2 separate regions of the Homo sapiens genome follow, and region 1 is linked to region 2. Evidence: promoter capture Hi-C in human tissues and cell types (Jung and others, 2019). All regions are on one chromosome and are shown on one strand. The core of a region is centred on a gene start or on the middle of the fragment in contact, and the rest is flanking DNA. Distances in the headings are between cores, read along the strand shown.

Evidence for each region. The method cuts DNA at HindIII sites, captures the fragments that hold promoters and counts their contacts. A contact is called where the count stands out against the background at its distance.
Region 1: a fragment that was not itself captured here is called in contact with the fragment with the promoter of CSRNP3 in region 2 in 2 of the 25 tissues and cell types used here (hippocampus and mesenchymal stem cells).

What each region holds. Positions count from the first base shown.
Region 1 is chr2:165,663,837-165,670,400 of GRCh38, forward strand. All of the region lies in intron 5 of CSRNP3 (cysteine and serine rich nuclear protein 3), which reads left to right. Among named protein-coding and RNA genes, the nearest start is that of GALNT3, 130 kb to the right of the region's middle. The HindIII fragment of the contact is 3,212 bases long and covers 969-4,180 here.
Region 2 is chr2:165,466,361-165,472,390 of GRCh38, forward strand. CSRNP3 (cysteine and serine rich nuclear protein 3) reads left to right here and starts at 3,338. Exons shown (of 7, transcript NM_001172173.2): 1 at 3,338-3,380. The HindIII fragment of the contact is 6,911 bases long and covers 1-4,905 here.

The sequences.
Region 1 (6,564 bases), core at 1,325-3,824, 200 kb after region 2:
AATTAGATTTTTTTTTCCAGAGTGTCAGTTGTTAAATATTTACTAGCATTCTACTAGATCCGTCTGGCTTATTAGCTACCACTGAAAGAAGCGATGTTGGTCTAAATCAGAGGGTAGGAGAAAAAAATTTGAGAGGAAATTTTCATATGTCTTATATGTCGATACTATCATCATCCCTCCTGGTGACTGTGTGGTAATATGTATTCCAGGGTCCTATTGTGACTTCAGGTTGTTGAAATTCTCATAAGCTAACAAAACAACCAAACATTCCTAGTTCTTCGAGGGTATAATTAAATTGGTTCCAGTTTGCCACCTGCAATTAACAGCTAATGAGCTAAAGAACTATATTATAAGATGTGACTCAATATCCAAATGATATACATATTTTCCTTTAGTTTTCCAGAGACCTTACAGACTAGGTCACTGTCCAACTTGTACCACAAAACCAGGAATTTATTGTATTAAAAACATATCCTATGCTTTCTAGCCTCTTATTGAACAATTCTGGTGATCCAGAGCACACAGCTTTTTGAAATAGCGCATTTCATTTTGCAGCTTTAATTGTTAGAAAGCTCTTCCTAACATTGAGCAACCTGCTGCCATGTGACCCGAATTCTGCCCCATAAGTACACAGAGTAAATCTTCCCTATTTTCCGAATTCTGGCTGTTTGAAAGCAATGGTGATGGACATGCAAATATTTGAAGAAAGCTTATGGGCTCTATATGTTTCTGTTCTGCAGGATTAAACATCCTTGGTTCTTTCCACTGATCCTCCTGGGGCATGGCTTTTAGGCTCTTTGTTGCCCTGGTTTCCTTCCTCTGGATACAGGGCTATTTATGTCTCCTTTATAATATGGTACTTGACCTGGACATGGTGCTCCAGGAATATGTTACGTTATCTTCTCCCAAGTTCGGGATGTTCTTTCCATGGAATACACTAAGGATATAGTGGCTTTTGGACTGTGATCAATTTTTTTTTGTTCTTAGTAAGCTGGTGGTAAGCAAAAAACAAACAAACAATAAATAAGCTAAACTAAACAAAAAACAAGCAAACAAAACTCAGATCTTTTAAGCCAACTCTGCATTATGATATAAACCAAAATTTTGTAACATCTCCATGGCAAAAGCCCTCTTTAGTGCTAGACATGGCCTGTAGAGAGTGATCAATAAAGTTTTGTTACATTTAATTTCAATAAACTTGGTCTTGTCATCTGTAGATGTGATAAGCTTGCCTTTTAGGTCTTCATCCAGGTTATGGACTTAAAATTGCATTTAACAAAACAGGGCCAAGTTTAGGATATCCTCTCAAGGTAGCTATCCTCAAGAGTAAAAGGAGAAGCACCCCACCATGACCCCCAGGGAGAAACATTGCCAGGGTGCGCCACTGCTACTGATAGGATGTATAGATGCCGTTATCCTTCATTCCTGGCCTCCTTGTTGGTACAAAAGAGGCTGAGCATCACTGGTATTAGAGGCATTTTTACTGCTCAGCTAACTAAAAGTCATATATCCAACCATATTCTTATTAATCAGATTACATTCCATTTTCCACATGAAGAGCATAAGAAATTCTGTCAGAGTGAAAGAATGGGAAATTCTCAGAACTATATTCTTGTCTTAGAGACAAAATAAGAAATTCTCTGGCCGGGCAGGGTGGCTCGCACCTGTAATCCCAGCACTTTGGGAGGCAGAGGCTGGAGAATTGCTGGAGGCCGGGAGTTAAAGACCAGCCTGGGCAACATAGTGAGACCCCTTCTCTACAAAATAATTTAAAATTTAGCTGGGCAGTTGCATGTGCCTGTAGTCCCAGCTACTTGGAAGGTTGTGATGAGTGCATCACTTGGGCCCTGGAGTTCAAGGTTGCAGTGAGCTATGATTGTGCCATTGTACTGTAGCCTGGGTCCCAGGCGACAGAGTGAGATTCTGGGAAAAGAAAGAAAGAGAGAGAGAGAGAGAGAGAGAGAGAAAGAGAGAAAGAGAAAGGAAGGAAGGAAGAAAGGAAGCAAGGAAGGAAGGAAGGAAAGAGAGAGAGAAAGAAAGAGAGAGAGGAAGGAAGGAGGGAGGGAAGGAAGCAAAGAGAGAGAGGAAGAAAGAAAGAGAGAGGAAGGAAGGAAGGACGGAAGGAAAGAGAGAGGGGAAGAAAGAAAGAGAGAAAGGAAGGAAGGATAGAGAGGAAGAAAGAAAGAGAGAGAGAGGAAGGGAGGAAGGAAGGAAAGAGAGAGGAAGAAAGAAAGAGAGAGAGAGAAAGGAAGGAAGGAGAGAGAGGAAGAAAGAAAGAGAGAGAGAAAGGAAGGAAGGAAGGAAGGAAAGAGAGAGGAAGAAAGAGAGAGAGAGAAAGGAAGGAAGGAAGGGAGGAAAGAGAGAGAGGAAGAAAGAAAGACAGAGAGGAAGGAAGGGAGGAAAGAGAGAGAGGAAGAAAGAAAGACAGAGAGAGGAAGGAAGGAAAGGGAGAGAGGAAGAAAGAGAGAGGAAGGAAGGAAAGGGAGAGAGGAAGAAAGAAAGAGAGAGAGAAAGGAAGGAAGGAAGGAAAGAGAGAGGAAGAAAGAGAGAGAGAGAAAGGAAGGAAGGGAGGAAAGAGAGAGAGGAAGAAAGAAAGACAGAGAGGAAGGAAGGGAGGAAAGAGAGAGAGGAAGAAAGAAAGACAGAGAGGAAGGAAGGGAGGAAAGAGAGAGAGGAAGAAAGAAAGACAGAGAGAGGAAGGAAGGAAGGAAGGAAAGAGAGAGGAAGAAAGAGAGAGAGAGGAAGGAAGGAAGGGAGGATAGAGAGAGATGAAGAAAGAGAGAAAGGAAGGAAGTAAGGGAGGAAAGACAGAGAGGAAGAAAAGAGAGAGGAAGGAAGGAAAGAGAGAGTGGTGTTAAGAGAGAGAGAAAGGAAGGAAGGAAAGAGAGAGGAAAACAGAAAGAGAGAGGAAGGAAGGAGAGAGAGGAAGAAAGAAAGAGAAAGGAAGGCAGGAAGGAAAGAGAGAGAGGAAGAAAGAAAGAGAGAGAAAGGAAGGACGGAAGGAAGGAAGGGAGGAAAGAGAGAGAGTAAGAAAGAGAGAGAGGAAGAAGGAAAGAGAGAGAAAAAGGAAGGGCGGAAGGAAGGGAGGAAAGAGAGAAGAAGAAAGAAAGAGAGAGAGGAAGGAAGGAAGGAAGGAAAGAGAGAGAGGAAGAAAGAAAGAGAGAGAGAGGAAGGAAGGAAGGAAAGAGAGAGAGGAAGAAAGAAAGAGAGAGAGAAAGGAAGGAAGGAAGGAAAGAGAGAGAGAAAGAAAGAGAGAGAGAGAAAAGGAAGGAAGGAAGGAAAGAGAGAAAGAAAGAAAGAGAGAGAGAAAAGGAAGGAAGGAAGGAAGGAAGGAGAAAGAAATTTTCAGGACTAGAGCACTGGTTTTCCAACTGTAATCCATGGGGTCTGAGATTAGGGACCAGGGCAGAAAGCCCAAGATGCAGATCTCATTCTCACTTTTATCTTCCATATGTTAAGCTTCTGCGTGGAATTTTAATTGAAAAATGGACACATTCCCTGTAGTAAACTTAGGCAATAGTCTAATAATTACTGCTCTTTTTTGTCACATGTACAGAGACCATCTTTTTAAGTATTTTTTTCTAGAATATTGTTATTCAGAACTAGCTTTTTTTTAAAAAAAATTGTTCTCACTTTGATTATCTTGTAATTCTTTACTCCATGACTCTTCAAAACTGTTACACTGCACAACCATAACTTCAAGCTGTTTCATTGCCTCAAAACATAAATTGTCTGGGCCTGGAGATTCTTCCATAAAACAGCGGAGTCCTCTTTCGCTGTCTCCTCACCTCCCTTTTGCTTTAAATCCTTCCTGACATGCCTGTTCTCACATTTTTGGTTTGAAGGTTTTTCTTTTTGAAAAAGACTATGGAATCTGAATAGGAAGTAAATAATTCTGCTTTGTGACTTTGTACCTAGCCTTCCTTTTCATGTCTATTCTCTCTTCCACCCCACCACTTCAATAACTTGCACATATATTTTGTGCTCTTACAACATTATATCATATTTATTACACGGTCATCTCCCCCAGCAGACTGGAACCTCCTTATATGGCAGAACTGTTGTACATCTATAAAACTCCATACCTAGTACAGTGCTTGGCAATATGCCATAGTGATTAAGAATATTCACTTATTCATTTTAAAAATGTATTAATCAATTACTATGGGACTGGTAATTATCAAGGTGCAAAGGATACACTGGTAAACAAGACAGATGCCATCTCTGCTCTCAACATGCTCACAGTATGATAGGGGAGATAAACATTAAATCAATCACCAAAGCTAATATAGTCTTACAACACTAGACCACAGGCTATACAGATTTCTCAGGCCAGGATAAATAAGTTAAAAGTCAGCTGAGAAAATCAAAAGAGTAATACGTTAGCTCAACCAGCTTTATCTGATGTCCTCTCCATTAGAAAGGCCACCTCCACATGCCCAAAAAGTAGGACCCAAAGGAAATACTAACTGGTGAGATGTTGTATCTTTGGTTTGCTCTCTGTTTTCTTCTTTCCTGAGCTCTTGCTTTCTGTGTCTGAATCATATCCTTTCTTTCTTTCTTTCTTTTTTTTTTTTTTTTTTTTGAGACAGAGTCTCGCTGTCACCCAGGCTGGAGTGCAGTGGTGTGATCTCAGCTCACTGCAACCTCCACCTCCTGGATTCAAGCAATTCCCTTGCCTCAGCTTCCCAAATACCTGGGACTGCAGGTGCCTGCCATCAATCCTGGCTAGTTTTTGTATTTTTAGTAGAGACAGGGTTTCACCATGTTGGCCAGTCTGGTCTTGAACCCCTGAGCTCGTTATCTGCCTGCTTCAGCCTCCCAAAGTGCTGGGGTTACAGGTGTCAGCCACCACGCCCAGCCCATATCCTTTATTTCTGAGTGAGCTATTTCTAGGGAAGCTTATTCTGCTCTTTTATCTCTTGCCCCACAGCACTGAGATCAGCTCTTAGAGTGTACTGCCACGTTGTCTTTTTTTGTTTCCTTTTGTTCAGTTTTTCTACCATTGCTCTTAAGAATTTTTACTCCAACTGGTCTTGAAAGCATGGCTCAAGCTTTGGAGTCAAATAAACCTAAGTTTGATCTTCAACATCATCATTAATTGGCTATTTAGCTAGACTTTGGCAAATTATATTCTCCGAACTTCAATTTTCTCAACTACAAAAAAATTTTACTTTATAAGATTGTCATGCAAATTAGGTGAGATAATTTATATACAGTATGGAACTTAATGGCTAGTATTTACTATATGGCAGCTTAGGTCATTCTCAACATCATCATCCTTATTATAATATGCAGTAATCAGTGTCTGTGAAGTTGAATTAGTTTTTCACATTCTTGTTTCTGGAAATCACTCTCTTTTTCACACGTGTGAATAATTCAGTAATGACCAGAAAATTTTGTTAGTAAACATAGCTTTTAAGTGCTAAAAAGAAGTGTTTTTATTTTTGTTTTTTGTTTTATTTTGTTTTGCCCTGGCATTTTAGTCAATCTATACTTTTAGTATTGTTTCTCTCTTCTAATCATTTTATTAGTTGAATTGAATTAGGTGTTTGGGGGCCCTTGATGGCACCAAAAATTTCATCTCATTAAAATTTATGGAAGAACTCATTCACAACATGATATGGTAAAAACAAACAAAAAGTTGAGCCTTGATTTTTATTTGGGATCCCTATATTTGGCTCAAAGCTGTCTGGGTATCATTCCACTGATTCTGACAGTAATGTGTCCCATCCCTCAGGTATGTTTAGATGGGCAAAATGATTTATTTCTATAGGGCTTTGGGAATGGTTTTCTCACAGTTATCAGTGCATACGAATCTGCAAAATTAAGATGTTTGGTTTCCATCTGTCAAAAAAAAGTTATAGTGGTTTTATTTGTAGAGAGTCTGAACAAGTTTACACAGTGGCTTAAGAACTAAGTCCATCTTAAGTGTCATCATTGAAACCAAGCATACACACATGTGCATGCGTGCCCACTCACACATGCCCACCCCACACATACATACACACAGGGGCCTTGACCTGGAGATCCTAACAGTACAACATAGATACATGCATACAGAGATAGGATAAACATAAAATAAAGATGATTAAGTCAAATCATAAATTAAGTCAGTATTCATCACCTGTAAACTAGCTAAGCCAAATGGCAAAGAAGAATTTCTCTCTGGATAACTGCTATTTATCTACTTTTAGCTCTTCAATTATGGACCAAGACAGGGAGTGATCCCATGCAAGTTCAATCATCTGGATAATTTATAGGTCAATGACTGTATCATGCTCTGTCCTATCTCAGGCCTTTGAAACTATTGTTGCTCAGCATGGAATGCCTTCTGTCACCACTGTTCATTTAACTGCTACTCTATTTTCAGATTTGAATATTGAAGTCTTCCCACTTCACCCCACTGCCAGCCCCACTGCCACCCTCCTACATAACCCTCAAATGCCCCATGTTCACCCTAAGCTAGGAAATCCTTATGAACTAGGTTAAAATTACTAGACTCCTTGTCTCTTTACTCCAGTTCATTGGGATCAAGGGCTGTATGTTGTGCACCAGTACACC
Region 2 (6,030 bases), core at 2,088-4,587:
CCCTCCTCGCTAACTGTTCCTCCTAAGCATCTTTTCTTCATTCTGCTTTCTGCTTGTTCTTTAAAGGTAAGTAAATTCCCTGAGTTTCATTCTCAACTTATTTCTCCTCTTCCTAGAGTGATGATTCTCAAACTTTAGTGTACAAAGGAAGTCAGCTGAAAAATGTTATCAAAATGGAGCTCCCTAAGCTTCATTCCAAAGGTTCTGATTCAGTAGGTATGGGGTGGAGTCTCTTAGTCAGCATTTTTAATTCTGCTAAAGATGTTTTTCTTTTTTAAAAAATAAATGTATATAAATATGGCATACGTAACCTCATATTGTCTTAATTAAACACGATGTATGTCATAACCTCATATTATCTTAAACACAATATTTATATATATTTAATTAGTAAAAGTTTGCTATAGTGAAGCAAACTAACATATCCATCATTTCATATAGCTATACTTTTTTGTTGTTTTTGTGGTAAGAGTAGCTAACATCTACTTATTTTACATGAAACCCATAGTACAATTTCATTACCTGTAGTCCTCATGTTGTACATTAGATCTCTAGACTTGTTCATCATATATATATATATATACACACATATACACACACACATACATATATATATATATATATATGCTTCTTTGTATCCTCTGACCTACATCTTCCCATACCCCCAGTCCCTGCCTCTGGTAATCACTGTTTTGTTCTCTATCTCTATATATTTGATTTTTTTTTTTACAAAGATTCTGCATATAAGTGAGACCAGGCAATATTTCTGTGTCTGGATTATAGCACATAGCATAATGTCCTCCAGGCTCATCTACATAGTGGCAAAAAGCAAGATCTATTTTTTAGGACTGAATAATATTCCATTGTGTATTTGTACCACATTTTTATCCCCTTGTCCATCAATGAATGCTTAAGTTGTTTCCATATGTTGGCTATTGTGAATAATGCTGCAATGAACATGGTAATACAGATATCTTTACAAAGTTGTGATTCCACTTCTGAGTATATGCCCAGAAGAGAGATTGCTAGATCATATGGTAGTTCTATTTTTAATTTTTTTACAATCATCCATACTGTTTTTCATAATGCTGTAGCAGTTGACATTCCCACCAACAGTGTACAAGAGTACTCTTTTCTCTACACTCTCTCCAACATTTATCTGCAGACATTTTGATAACAGCCGTCCTAATAAATATGAGGTGGTATTTCTTAGTAATTTTGATTTACATTGCCCTGAGGATTGGTGATGCTGAGCATATTTTCATAAACCTGTTGTCCATTTTTATGTCTTCTTTGGAGAAATGTCTATTTGGGCCTTTTGTCCATTTTGTATTGGGTTTGTTTTTCCACTGTTAAGTTTTATGAGTTCTTTATAAAATTTTTATATTAAACCCTTAGGGTGCTCATTTATTTTCATTACTTTAACCGAACCCTAGATGCTGGGGGTTCCAAATTGAACCTACATCCCAGCCTTATTTATGAGTTTAACTGACTATTTAATATTTTAATCTGGATATCCAAAAAGTTCAAAACGTTCAAATTAATTTTGTTATTTTGTTCCCAAATCTCTAAATCTCTCTTTTTTTTTTTTTTCTGAGACAATGGCATCATCATCTAAACAGAAGAAATCTGGTTAGAATTTGTGCCCTGCAAATACTTGCCTACAAGTCTCTGTCTACAATCACACTTGACATATAAATCACCTGGGAGAGCTTGCTAAAAATGCTGAGTCAGAAACTCCTCAAATGCTTATTCATTAAATCTGGAGGAGGCCCATGAACCTGCATTTTTAATGAATCTTCCCCTAGTGGTTCTGATGAAGATGGCCCCGAACAACTATTTCTAAAAATGCTGTCTGTCCTAGGGATTCCTCCAGTTATTCCTAGCAATAGGACCACAAAGGCTTTGAAAGCATTTTTCACAACAGAGGACTTGGCGGTGGGAATAAGCGATAGTTTAGTCTTCCCCATAATCTTTAGCAGAGCCTCCCAAAGCTACTCTAAATAACAGTGCAAACTAAGCAAAATCAGTGCACTCCTATCTAAAGTTAGTATCAGTTTAAGTCACCAGCCATTCCTTTCCTAACAATATTGACACCCCAAGCCCTTCCTGTACAGATATTCCTGGACTAATGATTTGCCACCATGCCAGTAACTCTTAAAGAATGCTTGCTTGCCCTTCCCTCTAATTTTACTCCCTTTGGCCTTATTCCCATGAGGACACATTACTGATTTAAGAAATTGAAGAGCAAGGCTTATAAATACCTCAAGTAGCCAGTACATACCTCTATAGTGGTGATATCTACTGTATATGTCTTTCTAAGGAAATTTTTCAGACCACCTCCACTAGAGGAAGCTCAATTGAGAGAATTTTTATCATAAAGATCCCTGGTTTGTATTACAGTATTTTAAAAATTAAACTGTTTGAAACTGGATGAATTTGCTTTATTGCCTTAAAAAATCCTAATTTGGTGTTTTCTTTAACTGTCCTTTAATGCATGTTATGCCTCTAGGTTCAGAAGTGAAATGATTTTTGTTTAAGTTTATTAGAATAAAATTGGAGTTCAGCTGGTCACTTTGAGGCATGGCAACCAAGTGACTGATCTCTTTTTAATCTTTAATAAGTTCCATTATTCACAAATTGATGGCATTTAAGGAATCTGAAGTAATGCAAACCACATAACTGTGAAATATTTGAATATTCTAATGCTCAGAATGAAATATTTTTCATACTGATTAGGCCTCGAAACTGCGTTTGAATGAAAACATTGTCAAACAGAGGTTGTAGTGCAAATAATATAAAACATAAGTATAAAGGGTGTTGATTCATTTTAATTCTATCTCTTTGCAAACTGAATATGCAAAATGTCATCTTGATGTTCAGTCTCCCTCCTCTGTCTGCATATCAAAATGTATAATGAGGAGGTACACTTTTTTCACTGAGAAAAATCAGTGGGAACTAAAAAACAGGCAATTTACCTAGGTTTTACTATGAGCATTTTGCTTTGATTTCAGGTAGGTGAGGCATTGATTAACTTTATTTTTCTAAATCCAAAGCAAGACTTTTTACTTCAGCTGAGGTCATCTGCAGACATTTTCCATAGTTGGGAGCTATTTTTTGAAATATCTTGCATCTCTGCTTTTCTCTCCATATTTCTTTTCTCCACTCGCTTCCTCTCTCCCAGCTGCAGGGATTCGTCCTCTAAAAGAGTGGAGGTGGGAGGGAACAAGAAATGGAAGCAAAGCAGGGAGCATGAGCTAGAGAATGCCAGGATCTGGCTTTTGTTATTGGTTGGCTGCCGCCTGATGGATAGACGAGGGAGGAGTGTACTCTCTTCAGTGTGTTCTGACGGAGCCGAAGTACAGAAACCATATTTACAGGTAAGAGCGAAAAATAAAAAAAAAGAAAAGAGAATTCTTTTTTTCTTTAAAAGAGAATGCTTCTTAATTTTTACGGAAACAATTTTATAGTAGGAAAATTATTCTGAGGACATTTTCTGAAAGTGTGTCCCTTTTATTACTTGAGGAAGCTTTGCAATGAGCTTGCTGTTCTTTCTCTCTGCAAAATCCTTAGCTGATTAAAAACAAAACAAAACAATCACCAGAGGCATGTCTTATCCTAAATAACTTTCTATGCAAGTGTCACTGAAGCAAAATTAATAGATAAAATGAATCATCATGTGTCTCTTCAAAAATGTTTAATTCAAGCTTGTTACTAGGAATCGCAGGAAGGATGAGAAAACCTCGGTAAATTCCACAGGTCCTGAGAAAATGGAGCCTTCTGTGAATATACAATATAAAATTTCATGTGATGGCTTTTAATATTGACAATACAGTAAAAGGCTTAGGAAAACTATTTTTGCAGGTTGTAGACTCTTTTAGCATTAATTTAGAATGAATGATTTGTGTGCATTTAAGCCCTGTTATTTAACTTACTCCTCTTGATAAATCTCATGTTGTTCAATATTTGCATTATTTTATTCAGCAAACTTTAAGCTTATGTGATAATTAAACAATGGTTTGTCTCTACTTGTTAACTTACATGGAGCCATTTTTATTTTAAAGCACAGAAACCTAATTTTGAAAGATTAAACATTGCTGTAAAAAATAGCATCTTAACAGTCATGTTTCATGGGTAGTTTAATTTATCAGTCAAACACATCTAGATAAGAATTCCATCAGAGCATTTATATTGTTGATAATATCTCTAGGCAATTTTTTTTTAGCAACTTTACTAGGTGCTTGTATCTCCTAATATGGTCCTTTATATTGCCTTAGGGAAAAAAGGGACAAGTTCTAAGTATGTAGAATAAATAACACACTTGCAGTAAAAACATACAAAAAAACTGAACTCCCAGTCACTTAATTCTTTACTTTAATTCATAAATACAGGTCATTTAACGGTGGTAGAACCTCATTAAAATTGAACTTTCAAGAATTATGACTGACTTCAGTACACTGGCCATCGATTAATACCTGTTGATTATAATAATAAAATAAAAGTCTTTCAATGAGGTAAATAATTTGTTCCTACATATTTTAATACCTTTTTGAATGAATCAAAACTAATAGGAATGACTATATAATTTCTAAATATTTTTTGCTATTGTTTTTCTTTTTGTTTATTGTTTTTCAAATTTTTTTATTTATTGTACTTTTTTTGTTTGAGAGATTTTGTCTTTGAATAAACAGACACAAATATAATAGTTCTTGGAAAATTAAAATGAGTGAGAAAATTGCTGAATATTAGTATGGATTATCTAAATGAATTGAGAATTACCTTAAATTTCCTAAAAGTACTAAATATAGTTAATAACATGTTTATATGGTTAAGTGTCATAATGAACCAAGTAAATATTCTGGTATGGTTGATTTTGAACTGTTTCTGGATTTCAAAAATTATTACATAATACTGAAATTTTGGCATGTTTCTAATTATTGATGGATCTTTCCGATTTTGTTTTTTTAAGCAAAACAATGGTTGAAATTAATCCACCCCTCACCCCAAGATTGAAATTCAAGGTGATATATAAGACCAGATATTCATCTCCTAAAATGTATTAGAGGAAATAAATCAATGCAGCTATATTTTTTAGAAATTATAAATTCTGAGTAAAGCTACCTCCAGGAATGAAGGGGAATTGATGAAAATTAGAGAGCAGAGTTCCACATGGTTTTAAATTATTCTGTTTCCTTGGAAACCAGCTGCTGCAGATGCATTTTGCTTTCTTTGGCTAAAAATATCACCCTTTTAATAATCACTAAGGGAGAGGACTGAATAAAACCAGAGTATATTGTTGCTGCTTTTTATAATTTCCTTAATGGTTCACATATTTTGGATGAAAAGTAGATAAACCCTTTCTCAATCAGCATTTCCTATCAGCCACTGGCAGACGTCTGCAAGTCTTATAAAAATGAGACAACTGGGGTAGCTTTTACTGCAGAGTCCACAGGAAGAGATAGAGAGAGAGAGAGAATGTGTGCTGGAGTGGAGACAAGAGAGAAAAAAAAAGCATGAAAGAAAACAGTTAAGAGGTTACTGTCCAAGTGAAGGATGAAACAAGGCAAATGAAAACCATGTAAGGCTTTCAGTGAGAAATGGGAAGGCATCACCATTTTTTTTTCCTTTGGTACAAACATTTTTAAGATTTAAATGTAGGTTTTTAATGGAGCTCACTATATACAGCTTTGTCCCCTTTTCACAACACTCTTTCCTTTTTCTCTTTATGTTTGCAGTGGTTTGCAATATAATGAATAATACAATAAATTAAGAAGTATTTTTTAATGTATCAATCACTTTAATCATAAAGAGAGAAGCTTGGTATATGTCCAGGCTATGGATAGTGAGGAGCATTCAATACACATTTTGACATTAGAATAAGAATTTTTTAAACTTAACGTCCAAACCATGTTTCATTAATGCAATTATTTCCTTACCTTTGTAATCTATTTAATATGTATAAAAAATTACACATTCCAACAACCTAAAAGCTATTTGTGTTAATGTTAAGGTAATTAATTTAAAATTTAA